Regions from separate parts of the Homo sapiens genome. Here all the other regions are linked to region 1. The links are contacts of gene promoters, found by promoter capture Hi-C in blood cells and fetal thymus (Javierre and others, 2016). All regions are on one chromosome and are shown on one strand. Each heading gives the region's core, a stretch centred on a gene start or on the middle of the fragment in contact. The rest is flanking DNA. Distances are from core to core; before and after follow the strand shown. Region 1 holds the start of RPS7 (ribosomal protein S7). Region 2 overlaps SH3YL1 (SH3 and SYLF domain containing 1). Region 3 has its middle 2.1 kb from the start of RSAD2. Region 4 has its middle 5.9 kb from the start of NRIR.

Region 1 (2,769 bases), core at 186-2,685:
CTAAATACAAGCAATTTTAGCAAAATTCACAAACAGAAACGTGCTGCAACAGTAGAACAGATACCTGAGCGATAAAGACGACATGCTTCCCACTGAACTTTTTCTCCAATTCGCGTACTAGCCGGACTTGGATTTTCTGGAAAGATTTCAGTTGAGGAACGGGAACAAAGATTATGATAGCTTTCCGACCACCACCAACTTCAATTTCCTAAAGAAAAAAACAAAAATCCACTGTGTTAACTGCTTCAGAAAGTAAACGTTGTGGTCAAATTAGAGGATAAGAAGACCTTATCACTAACACCGTAGCTGCACTACAAACTAATACTAGTTTTGAGTTAATCATAAATGCATCCTTCGGAAATGTTCTCATCTCTCTCCAACCTTCACATTTCCTTATTCCAGGAAGGGAGACTGTTCAGGCCAGGAGGCCAATCACTACCACTTCTGCACCCCCACTTGCGGCAACTCCGGGCTAAGGGTAGAGAGAATCTCATCCTGAGCTCCCCACAGCTCTTTGCCGTATCTATAACTAAGTAAGGGCAAATAAGGTCCGAAATGGGCCCAGGCCCTCCCTACTCCACGTTTCTCCACCGCCCGCATGTGGACAGCTTAAGCCGCAGGGTACCTGCAACCCCACTCCCCGCACCTGGGCGGTATCACTCCCAAACAACACGGCCGAACCTGAGTTCAGGTTAGGCGGCCAGGCGGCAAGTCATCATCAACCGTAACCCAGGTCCAACCCTCTCAGGCACTGCGCGGGGAGACGCGCCGCAACCTCCCTCCCAGCCGAGGGAGCGCCAGCTTACCTTAGCTGCCGTAATATTCAGCTCCCTGAGCTGAGCCTTGAGGTCCGAGTTCATCTCCAGCTCCAGAAGAGCCTAAGAAGCAACGAACAGCAGGACCGACCCTGAGCGCGCGTCCGAGCACCCCGGGCCCAACACACGCGCGGCCGCCTCCCCTCCCGGGCGGGGCGCCTCCCCCCACCCCAGACCCCAGGGAAACCCTCTCACCTGGGAGATGCCGGACTCGAACTCGTCCGGCTTCTCGCCATTGGGCTTCACGATCTTGGCGCTCGAACTGAACATGGCTTTCTCCTGGGAGAACTGAAGGCACAGCGGTCAGCGTTACGCGGCCCGGGCTGCAGGCGCCGCTGGCTCGCCCTCCCGCCCGCACCCCCCGGCCAGGCCCCGCTCGCCCCGCAGAAGCCATCGGAAAGCACAGGGCGGGTAATCGGCTGTATCCCCACCCTGTGAGCAAGGCTCGCCCCTCCAGGGCCTGACTCCAAAAGGCGTTTTCCTCAACCCAAGAAGAAAAGTTCTGTCGGAGAGCAGGCCGCCAACCTACCTTGCCGAGCGCCGGCTTAGGAAGAGACCCAAATCTCGCGAGAGCACGTCAAAATCCGGCGTCCGAAGGCAAGAGGCGGAAACAGCGCGAGGAGGAGGGCGGAAACCGGAACATCACTGAGAAGCGGTAGGAGGCTAGAGAGTCCCAGGAAGCGGCTCTGGGGACGAGTGTCTTGGTAACGCTTTTCCGCCCTAGGATTCGTACTTTGGTGCCGTTTCCGAGCGTTCCGGTACCGGCTCCCAAGGTTCCCGTCTTCAGTGCAGGTTGCAGGCGGGAACCGGCCTCGTCCCAGCCCTGGGCCTGGGAGAGAGAAGGAGGCCGAAGAAAACCAACTTCGGCAACCTCCGGAGACAGGACGTTTAAAAAAGGCTAACTTGGCTGGGCGCTGAGGCTCACGCCTGTAATCCCAGCACTTTGGGAGGCCGAGGCAGGAGGATCACTTGAGCTCAGGAACCAGCCTGGGCAACATGGCGAGACCCCATGTCTACAAAAAAAAAAAAAAAAAAATTAGCCAGTCATGGTGGTGCGCGCCTGCAGTCCCAGCTACCCCGGAGGCCGACGCGGGAGGATCGCTGGAGCCGAAAGGTCGAGGCTGCCGTGAGCCGAGGTTGCACCACTGCACTCCAGCCTGGGCGACAGCGCAAGACCCTGTCTAAAAATAAATTTAAAAAAAATTGCGAGGCCTTCATTCTATGCTAGTACTGTACTAGGTGCTAATTATTAAGTAAAACCGACTGAACTCTTGCCCTCATGGAGCTTACAGTTCAGTGGAGAAGACATTACCTAAAGCAGTATGACTAAATATATAATGACATATTGTAATAACTTACATAACAGTACAATGAGAGGGTGGGGAGGGATTATTTATGCTTTAAGAAGTCGGGAATCCTGGAACGGAATGACATTAGACTGAGACACGGAAGAGCCGCAGGATCTATTGCTGGGGAAGAGCATTCCAGACAGGGAGGAACTCGTGCCGAATGATCCCGCTGTGGACAGGGAATTTAATCTGAGCTTCGGTTTCCTCTTCTGTCAAATGTCATGCAAGAGTTACTTTCAGCCGTGGTCCAGGCACTGTGAAAAATGCAGAAGCCACACTAGGTGCCCTCTCTCAGGATTCCCAACCACCTTTACCAAGCAGAGATGGTATTCATCCCACATTTTTAATGCTAGATATGCTCCCGCCCGGTGCTTCTCTAATAATGTTTTTTAAAAGGTAAGTGACTGTCTCCTTGGAAAATTAAGGATAACTTGAAGTTTCTTCCAGATAGAAAGTAAACTACAGCTGCGTCTACAATCTCATCTGGGCAGTCGTTCTGAGCCCTTTTGTCGAACTAGGTCCATTTCCTTACTCCACATGCACTTTTCGACCTGGCTTTTATCTCTGCTGCTCTATAAAAGTAGTAATCTAAAAGTTCATCCAGT
Region 2 (2,769 bases), core at 81-2,580, 3.3 Mb after region 1:
AGGATTCTCATGTCCCTGTTTGTCCCCAGTGACTCTAGCATTGAGTTTATAGAACTGCGATCAATACCTAAAATTATTTCCAGATCTTAAGCTGATTTATGCTTTTGAGGTTTCCAAAGTAAAAATTGTCTTTCCGGTATTTTATAAGACCTTCTAATTTAAAAAAAAAATGTGTTACTATGAAAATTTAAAACATTTTAACTTTTGTTTTAAAGAAAACTTTATTTGAAAGTTTCTTAGCTTGAGGTTTGGCAGCCACTCTTTTTTTAGAAAAAACTTAAATATTTATAGAGATTTTGCCTGATTCAAGGGACTTAAGACGTTTATGAGAGTGCAGATGCTAACCATGATGTGAGGTTTAAGAGGCTTCATTAGTAATGACCTGTGTCTTCATCAGTATGATAGAATGGGACATCAGCACTCTGATCAGGTCATGCTCTATATGCCTTATGGTACAGCAGAGGAAAAATGGGTGAGCCATCATTTGATGCTGAGGATGGGATTTGAGGCTTATGTCTAAATTTTTATTTGCATATTCTTTTTGTTCTGACAGAGAAATTCACTGCATGTAACTATGACCACGCATGATTTTATCAGAAGTTGATTAGAATCTGTAACATTTTCTGTAGTTCAGCTGACACACTGAAGATGTCCTCACTGTGACCAGCCTTGTCAACAGCTGGATCACAGTGACATAAGCTGTGTCTAGGATGAGTCTTGCGGTCTGCAGCCGTGTGAGGCTGCATCTGATTCCCAAGTCCAATGGCTCTCTTCCCGTGTTTACAGATCAGGCCATGACCTTTCCCTACAGCAGGATGTTTGCAAGATTAACTCTCAACTGAGGAATTTGCTTATTTGCTCTAATACTGCTTGGTTGAGAGAGTTCAAAGTAGAAAGTCTTCTGAGGGGATAAGATTCATGTATTATTTACAGTGCTTCAGTTGCATGTATCAGAAAATCTAGTCTAAATTGCTTTAACAGAAAAAGATGTTGCTGGTCCATTTGACGAAGAAGTCCAGAGCGGCTTGTGACTTCAGTCTGGCTTTGCAGAGCCCAGGTGCTCTCTCCACCTTCTGCCAGGTTCCCCTATGAAGGCTTTGCTCTCAGACTCTCCCCTTGTGGAGACAAAAATCCCACAGCAAGTGGAAACAGAAGTGCCTTGGAAAAAGTTATTCTGGCAGCTCCTATACAAGTCCCCCATCAGATGCTGGTATTGGACCAGCTTTGGTTATAAAGCCCTGCTGTGGCACCAAAAGGAATGTCGTCCTGATACAGCAGCCTCGGGTCACCCAATCCACTCCAGATACTATGGCTGCAGCATCAATGTAAGCAGACAAGTTGTGCTGCCTCTGAAATAAAGTAGATGAAATATTCAGCAGCAGAAAGAACAAGTTTCCACTCCAGTGAACTAATTCAAATGTATCCAGCATCTAGATATATGTATAAATGTAATTAAAACATATTGAGCATCTAGAGCATCTCTCCCAAGATAATTACCACCTGATAGTAATGGCTATAAAAGCTAAAAGTGGAATCAGTCTACATGTTTCGCAATAGGAATCAATTGAAGCATACATCAAAATGCAGACAGTAGTATTGGTGAGTATTAATGTTATAGATGCTTTTTATCCTTCATATTTTCATATCTGTACTTTTTCCTGTATTTTACAATGTATTTGTACGTTGTACAAATAATTGCTGATCATGTAAAAATATAGAAATATAGAAATTTTGTTGCCATACTTGGGTCTTTTCCACTATGAAATTGAAAAAAAATTCTATAATTCCTGGTTCTTTTATAATTTGATATTTGACACTCTAAATCTTCAATGAATTTGGAGTTTATCTTTCTGTAACACAAAGCTGTGAATGAATTTTTGTTTTTCTCCCCAAATGAACATTATCTAGTATGCAATACATCATTTCAACATAGAATTGAGGTGTCATTTTTATTATATACTAAATTTGTAAATATATTTGGGTTAATTTCTGAATTTTCTTCTTTGTGAATTGATTTTTCTCCTATATTTGCATCTGCTATTATGTATTAATTATTGAGGCTTTGTAATGTGTCACAGGTTCTGTCAAGGCTGGGCTGTCATTGTTCTCCTATTACATATTTTTTCCTAGCTCTTCTTGCTTGTTTATTTTCCCATTTGAACTTCAAAATTACTGTGTTTTATTAAAAGACCCTTGTAAGATAGAAGACAGATTTGATTTCATTAAGAAAAAACAGAAAAAAAAGCAAATTCAAAAGACAAGTAACAGAGAGTCAATGTTTTTAACTCATATTCCAAAAAAATATTAATTTTTAATGTATAAATTAATAAGAAACAGAGAGAAACCCCCTGTAAATAACAAGGTGCATGAGAAACCTTTGATAGAGAGAGTGAAATGTGGTCAGCATTGCTCATCATAAAAGAACAAATGGAAAATGCACTGAGAGCTACTGGCCAGGGCAGCGAAATGGCTCCTGCTACTCACACATGGTAAACAGCTAGGAAACTGGACAGCTGTGTGTAGAGCACTTTTTGCACATGGTGGACATGTCTGAGATCCACAAGATAAGGGGAACAGGAGGTGAACTCCATTAGTGACCGTTTTCTGCCTGGAGCACTTCCTAAACTGCAGGACAAGGAGGGGGCACCCAGAGCCCAGGCTCCTGCTTAAAAGAAGAGGCAGAAATTGAGTCTGAAGAGGCTGAGGTAACTGGAATTTGCAGAGCATGTTACTAGCAATGAGGGACGGCTGAGAGAAAGAGCTCCAGAA
Region 3 (2,769 bases), core at 97-2,596, 3.3 Mb before region 1:
TTGGTGAGAATTACTGCGACACATCATTTATTTACCTTTACAGTTTTTTTAGAAAGCCTTGTTGACCTTTTTACTGAAATCTTCCTTTTAGCCCTCTTTCATCAGAACTGTGTGTAAGTGTGTGGTCTTGTGCTTTCGTGACACCTGTAGGAAGTTGGAAGAGTCCTAGTAGCTGAACTTCCAGAGCCACAAATCATGTAGCTGGGTGACTGAGTAAGCGACTTTATTTCTCTGGATTTCCATTTCTTCATCAGCAAAGCAACGTATCTCAGGCGATTTTTGTGCAGAGTAAAACTGCTAATTTTTGTGAAGAATTCAGAATAGTGCCTGGCAAACTTTAAGTGTTCAGTTAGGGTTAGCTCCTGTTATTCTGATACTGTCATATTCTGAATAGAAACAGAAATGATTTATTTTACTTAAAAAAAATTAAACATGTTTAACTTAACATTTAACATCTGCAAAATTGTATGCTTAATGATTACCAAATATTCAACAGTAGATATGTCTCAGGTCCTTGAAATCTCAGCCCAAAGTTTCTTAAACTCTCATGCCATGGTCTTGCACAATTGAAAACCACTTTTGGATAGATCTCACTTCTTCATAAACATGTGATCATGAGAGGCATACAGGCACCTGTTAAATTTGAATCAAATTCTTTTGGGTTAACTTGGTTCCCCTTTCTGGCTGGAGCAACCTTTGAAGTCTCAAAGGTTAGGTCAGCACGATCCTAGTGGGGGTCTCTTGCAGGCATCTGTTAAAATAGGCTAGGAAAATCTTAAAGAGGCTCCAAATGCTTAGCCCAAACATAAGGAGGATCAAGACTTGTAGGGTGGCATGCAGAAGGAACCCTACTGCAGGGGAAGCCGGCTGGAAATATCTGGAGATCAGAAACTTAACCTAGAAGGTCCAGCCAGGAGGCTTTTTGAAGCTGTTTTTCAGAGATTTGGCTAGCCTTAAGATCTTAGATGTTTCAAATTCAACCTGCCTGGAAGTATTTACCCTGTGGAAAGTGGCAGCAACAGCACAAACATCACTCTGTGCAGGGAGGAGATAGTCTAAAGCAATGTGTTTGTCTAGGACCACACGAGCAAGGGAGTCTATGGACCTCTGTTGCACCCTGATGGCCTGGGTGGTAGAGCAGGCAATCCTGCGAACAGTTCAGGAAGGGTTTCTGATCATTTATGAATTCCAAGCAGAATCTAGTTTAAATTGGGACCGGAAAAACCTTCCTAATCTAGCTCCTTCTAGGGTTAACCCTTCTAGATGAATTATATCCTTGAGAGTATCCACAACTATTATCTTCATAATCTGAGGGATTATCATGAGTGTTGGATTATAGCTGTTAGAGAACAGGGCAGGTAGTGTTGGGGATAACTGAATAGATGGGAATTTGGGTAAAAGGTATTTCCATGGCCAAATCTCCTGGTGAGGATAACTCAAGCATTATTTCTCCTTTCTGGGAGAATAAAATATGGGCCTGGAATGTTTCTAAGAAGTCCCTGCCTAGGAAGTGTATGGAAGCCCAAAGGAAAAACAACTGCCCGTGAGGGGTACTAGTTGGAAAAGAATAGGTGAAGATTAGGAACCATCATAGGTTGGTTGGCTACCCCAACCATCTGGATGAATTCAGAACTCCAGGGAGGGTCCATGGAAAGCATGCTGGGGTTAAGGATGGACAGAGTAGCCCCAGTGTTGACCAGAGCTCTGATGAGTTTTCTCCAATCTTAATACCTAATTCCCCTAGTTGAATAATTCGAGTAGGGGAAATGTCCCAAGAGGCTCTATAGTTTTGCTTGAGGGAAGAGGGCTGGTAAACTTTATCAGGATTTAACTGTATCCAGATATTGTAGGAAATTAGGAGAACTCAGGATCCAGTCCAGTCTACAGGTAGAAAACCAGAACTTGAAAACAGTGCATAGGGCTTTAACCTAAAGTAGGTGCACGTTAGTTTTTCTTAAGAACATGACTTTTTCTCTCCACATTAATCATACAGGAACTTTCAGGTTTTAGAACCTCTAGAGGCTAGGAAGCCAAATCAAGGCAGGCTTTAGATTTTACTTAGGGTCTTAAGGTTCTTGGGCCTACCAGGAAGTGACAAGTTTTATGTATTCACTGTAAGGCTGGGAACTCTTGAAGCCAGGCATGTGATGACCCTTCTTAAATATGACTTTTCAATCAAAGCCTAGTAATATAATCAGTATTTCCAATAGTATCCTGCTTACAAAGGGAGAGCAGATTTTTACTGAACTTACAGAAATAAAATAAGAATGCTCACAAATAGTGTCTGAATTTTGGAGGACTCAAGTAGGGAGAAAGGCAAATGCTTCCACTTTTGTTCATAAAAGTATACTTCCCCAAATTATTGCAAACTATAACTAATGAAAGAAAAATTCCTTGAATCTGAAAAAAAATTTAAGTGTAGAACCAACATTTTAAATAAAAGTCATAAAGTTATCCTTATCAACTACTTACTTTCGGTTAATTAATTTTGCTTTCCTTAATTAGTAATTTTGGGCTATAGCTGATTGCAAATGCTTCTAGAGAAGAATTTAAAACAATAATCGTGGATGAGAAAAATCCAGAACAGCTATGATCAAAACTCTGATGAGAGTTTACAAGGAAATTGTAAGAAATAATGTAGAAATAATTGCAAGAAAATTTAAAAGAAAATTTAGGTATTTTTGTGGCATACAATCATTAAACTAAATAATCATACTCAAGACTGATAACACATATTATGATATATTAGTCAATTCTTGCATTGCTGTA
Region 4 (2,769 bases), core at 197-2,696, 3.3 Mb before region 1:
ACTCTTCATATCGGCTGTATTCAGAGGTGATAGCCATCTAAGGACCAAGAGATGAGGATGACACTAAAAGGAATTAGCTTGCCTTAGGTAAATAGCAAGGGAAGGGTCCCCAGAGAGCCCTCGGCCCACCAGTCAGTGCCTCACCCCACATAATGTAAAAAGCAGCCTGGGGAAAAAATCAAGCTGCAGGCACTGATAAGGGAACTAGCACAGGGTGTTGTGCCTGGAGACATGCCTACGGCTGCACAGATAGGAGAGCCTCTGGCCCATTCAGATAAAAGCTTGCACAAACCTCTGGCTCACTCAGATGAGGGAACAAGTCCTGGCATAAAAACACCTTTGTCCTTTGTATAGTCAGCAGGCTCCCAGGAAAAAGTTTTTTTCTCCTTTTGTGGGCGTGGGCACAGTGGGCTCCAGTTAGTTCCAGTGGGCACTTTCCTTGCCAGTTTTTGGACTGTGAGTCTGGCCTCTGTGAATCATAACTTCAGCCCCTGATTGGTCCCAGGCAAAGGTCCTAGGCCAGGCTTTCTGATTGGTCCTGGGCCAGGGTGCCTGGCCAAGCTGAGTCATGCCTTCTCCAAGACAGCCGGTAGACTAAGCACATTCATTCCCCTTTCCAGCCCGTAAAACCCCCACAACTGGCCTCATAGTGGGCACCCCATTAGAGCTCCCCCTTCTGCTGGCAGAGAGCTTTCTTTTTTCGCTTATTAAAGTTTCACTCCAACTTCACCCTTGTTGTCTGCACTCCTTAATCTTCTTGGAATTAGGACAAAGAACTCTGGATATTATCTCAGACAACGGGAGACTGTTACATCTTGGTGCATTGGTAAGATTACAACACATTTTGGTGCATTGGCTGGGAAGAAGGGAATTCATCAGAAGGATGATTAAGAGTTGACCTTTAACTTTCACCTTTACTTGCATTTCTGAGGCTTCTTGTCTATTCCAGTCTAGTTTGCTTTCACAGAGGGCCTAGCCATCATGTGGGATTGGAAGGTCCCAGGGCAACTGAAGGTTTCTGGCTGGGGCTACCCCCTCAGTGTTATCTGAAGGCCCTTGGACTAACTCCAGTCCCCTACAGCCCATCAGGGAGTCAGCACAAAGACTTGCAATCTTTTCCTATTGCATTTTCCTTCTTTCTTCTTGTGGCTATCATGTCTCCAACCTCTTCTTTCTATGCAATGTTGTGGGTGTTTTTGTAACCTAGGGATATAATCTTGCGGAGTAGAGTTAGTTGGTATCTTAATAATCAAGAATGTAATTCAAAGAGTTGTTGTTTTTGTGATTTCCTGGAAACAGGGAATTCAAGACTTCAGTCTAAATTTTCACCTAGTAAGGGCCTTTCTATCCCTCAATAATAGACATTCATGGCACCATATGGGAGGATCTTTCACCCCGAGTGAATATCCTCGTCTCCTTTTGGGTTGTTTTTTTCCTCCATATAATAGCTCAGCATTGTCCAGTGAATTTAAACAGTTCTTTTATGAGAGAAGTTAATTTTCTTACGGTCTGGGCTTGCTATGGGGGCAACCTATCAAACCCCAAATCTCTCTTTCTAACTTTTGCCTGAAAAGAATTTGGAGTCAGAGTTTTTACCTAACATTTCTAACCCTACAATGCCACCTAGTGGAAAGGAATTTTTCTCCCTGGGGAGCCTTATCATCCCTCTGCCCCAAACTCCTTGTTTCCCAATTCTTTTCCCTTTTACGTTCCTCTATCAGTGATCAGAGCCCATGTCCTATTTGTAGACCAAACAACAAAAAAAATCTCCACTTTCAACAGCTGGGAGGTAGCCATCCTGATAAGACAAATCTTAGCTTCAATACTCTCCCCATCAAAGGAATGGCAGCCATTCAATTCTTATGCTCATTTGAGGCACCTGTTCTGCATTCAACTACAATGGGATTTTTTAAAAAAGGAATTTTATGTTTGGAAGTTAATCAGTCCCATTCTGTGGAATTCTGATTTTTCACTGGGGCTATAGCAAGGGAAGCCACAGATGGTATTAGGACATTCCCTGCATTAAAGAGTCTTGCCCAAACCCAACTACTACAGAATCTCTCCTAGGCCTCTTAGGGTACTTTGGGAGCCTTTTGGGTTGAGTGGGTCTAGGAATCCAGCAGGGCAGAAAGCTAGAGCCTTATGCAGGTGAGCATGACTAGTCCTGCCCTACTGGCTCCTCTGGATCCATGGGTGAAGGATATGCTTGCATCCATGGGGCGGCACCTATGATGGCTGCAGGGACCCAGAGGAGAGAAGGAAGGAGAAGAGGAATGCCTTTTCTCTCTTTCCCTCCACCCTGGGTAACGCAGAGAGGAGGAAGGGGACTGAGGGATGCCTTGTCTCCCATCTCTTATTAGATGGGTAACAAACCATCTGCAGTCTGTAATCTCCTCGAGTGCATTCTGAATCACTGGAACTCCTTTGATGCTGAGGTTCTGATGATAAAATGGCTCATATTCTATTGTACAAGGACATGGCCTTTTTACCATCTTGGAGATGAAAAAACCTGGCTTTCTGAGGGAAGTCTTTTTTTATATACTATTCAACAACTAGATATTTTCTGTAGGCAGGAGGGTAAATGGTCCAAGGTTTACTATATACAAGCTTTCTTTGCCCTGCGAGACAACCCAAATCTTTGTAAGCATTGTACAGTTGACCCCACACTCTTGGCAGCCATGTCAGACAAGCCTACAAAAGATACTTCCCCAAAATCAGAGAGTCAAACCCTTTGGGGAATCCTCAAATGCAACTTCTGGGTGCCCTACC

The links. Contacts are between HindIII fragments. The CHiCAGO score rates a contact against its expected background, and 5 or more counts as called.
Region 2: a fragment that was not itself captured here is called in contact with the fragment with the promoter of RPS7 in region 1 in 2 of 17 cell types (fetal thymus and monocytes); the score reaches 5.7 in fetal thymus.
Region 3: a fragment that was not itself captured here is called in contact with the fragment with the promoter of RPS7 in region 1 in 1 of 17 cell types (monocytes); the score reaches 5.5 in monocytes.
Region 4: a fragment that was not itself captured here is called in contact with the fragment with the promoter of RPS7 in region 1 in 2 of 17 cell types (non-activated CD4 T cells and M0 macrophages); the score reaches 5.8 in non-activated CD4 T cells.

What each region holds. Positions count from the first base shown.
Region 1 is chr2:3,573,926-3,576,694 of GRCh38, reverse strand. RPS7 (ribosomal protein S7) reads right to left here and starts at 1,435. Exons shown (of 7, transcript NM_001011.4): 1 at 1,345-1,435; 2 at 1,011-1,103; 3 at 807-878; 4 at 65-208. The coding sequence starts at 1,085. LOC124907726 (a long non-coding RNA gene) reads left to right here and starts at 1,586. Exons shown (of 2, transcript XR_007086196.1): 1 at 1,586-2,560. RefSeq lists a silencer at 889-1,178 and enhancers at 730-1,306, 1,307-1,882. The HindIII fragment of the contact is 5,628 bases long and covers 1-2,769 here.
Region 2 is chr2:258,915-261,683 of GRCh38, reverse strand. The region is part of intron 1 of SH3YL1 (SH3 and SYLF domain containing 1); the gene reads left to right. Among named protein-coding and RNA genes, the nearest start is that of SH3YL1, 3.7 kb to the left of the region's middle. The HindIII fragment of the contact is 3,075 bases long and covers 1-2,769 here.
Region 3 is chr2:6,874,333-6,877,101 of GRCh38, reverse strand. It overlaps a transcript of RSAD2 not described here. Among named protein-coding and RNA genes, the nearest start is that of RSAD2, 2.1 kb to the left of the region's middle. The HindIII fragment of the contact is 4,988 bases long and covers 1-2,769 here.
Region 4 is chr2:6,844,960-6,847,728 of GRCh38, reverse strand. It overlaps a transcript of CMPK2 not described here. Among named protein-coding and RNA genes, the nearest start is that of NRIR, 5.9 kb to the right of the region's middle. The HindIII fragment of the contact is 2,326 bases long and covers 284-2,609 here.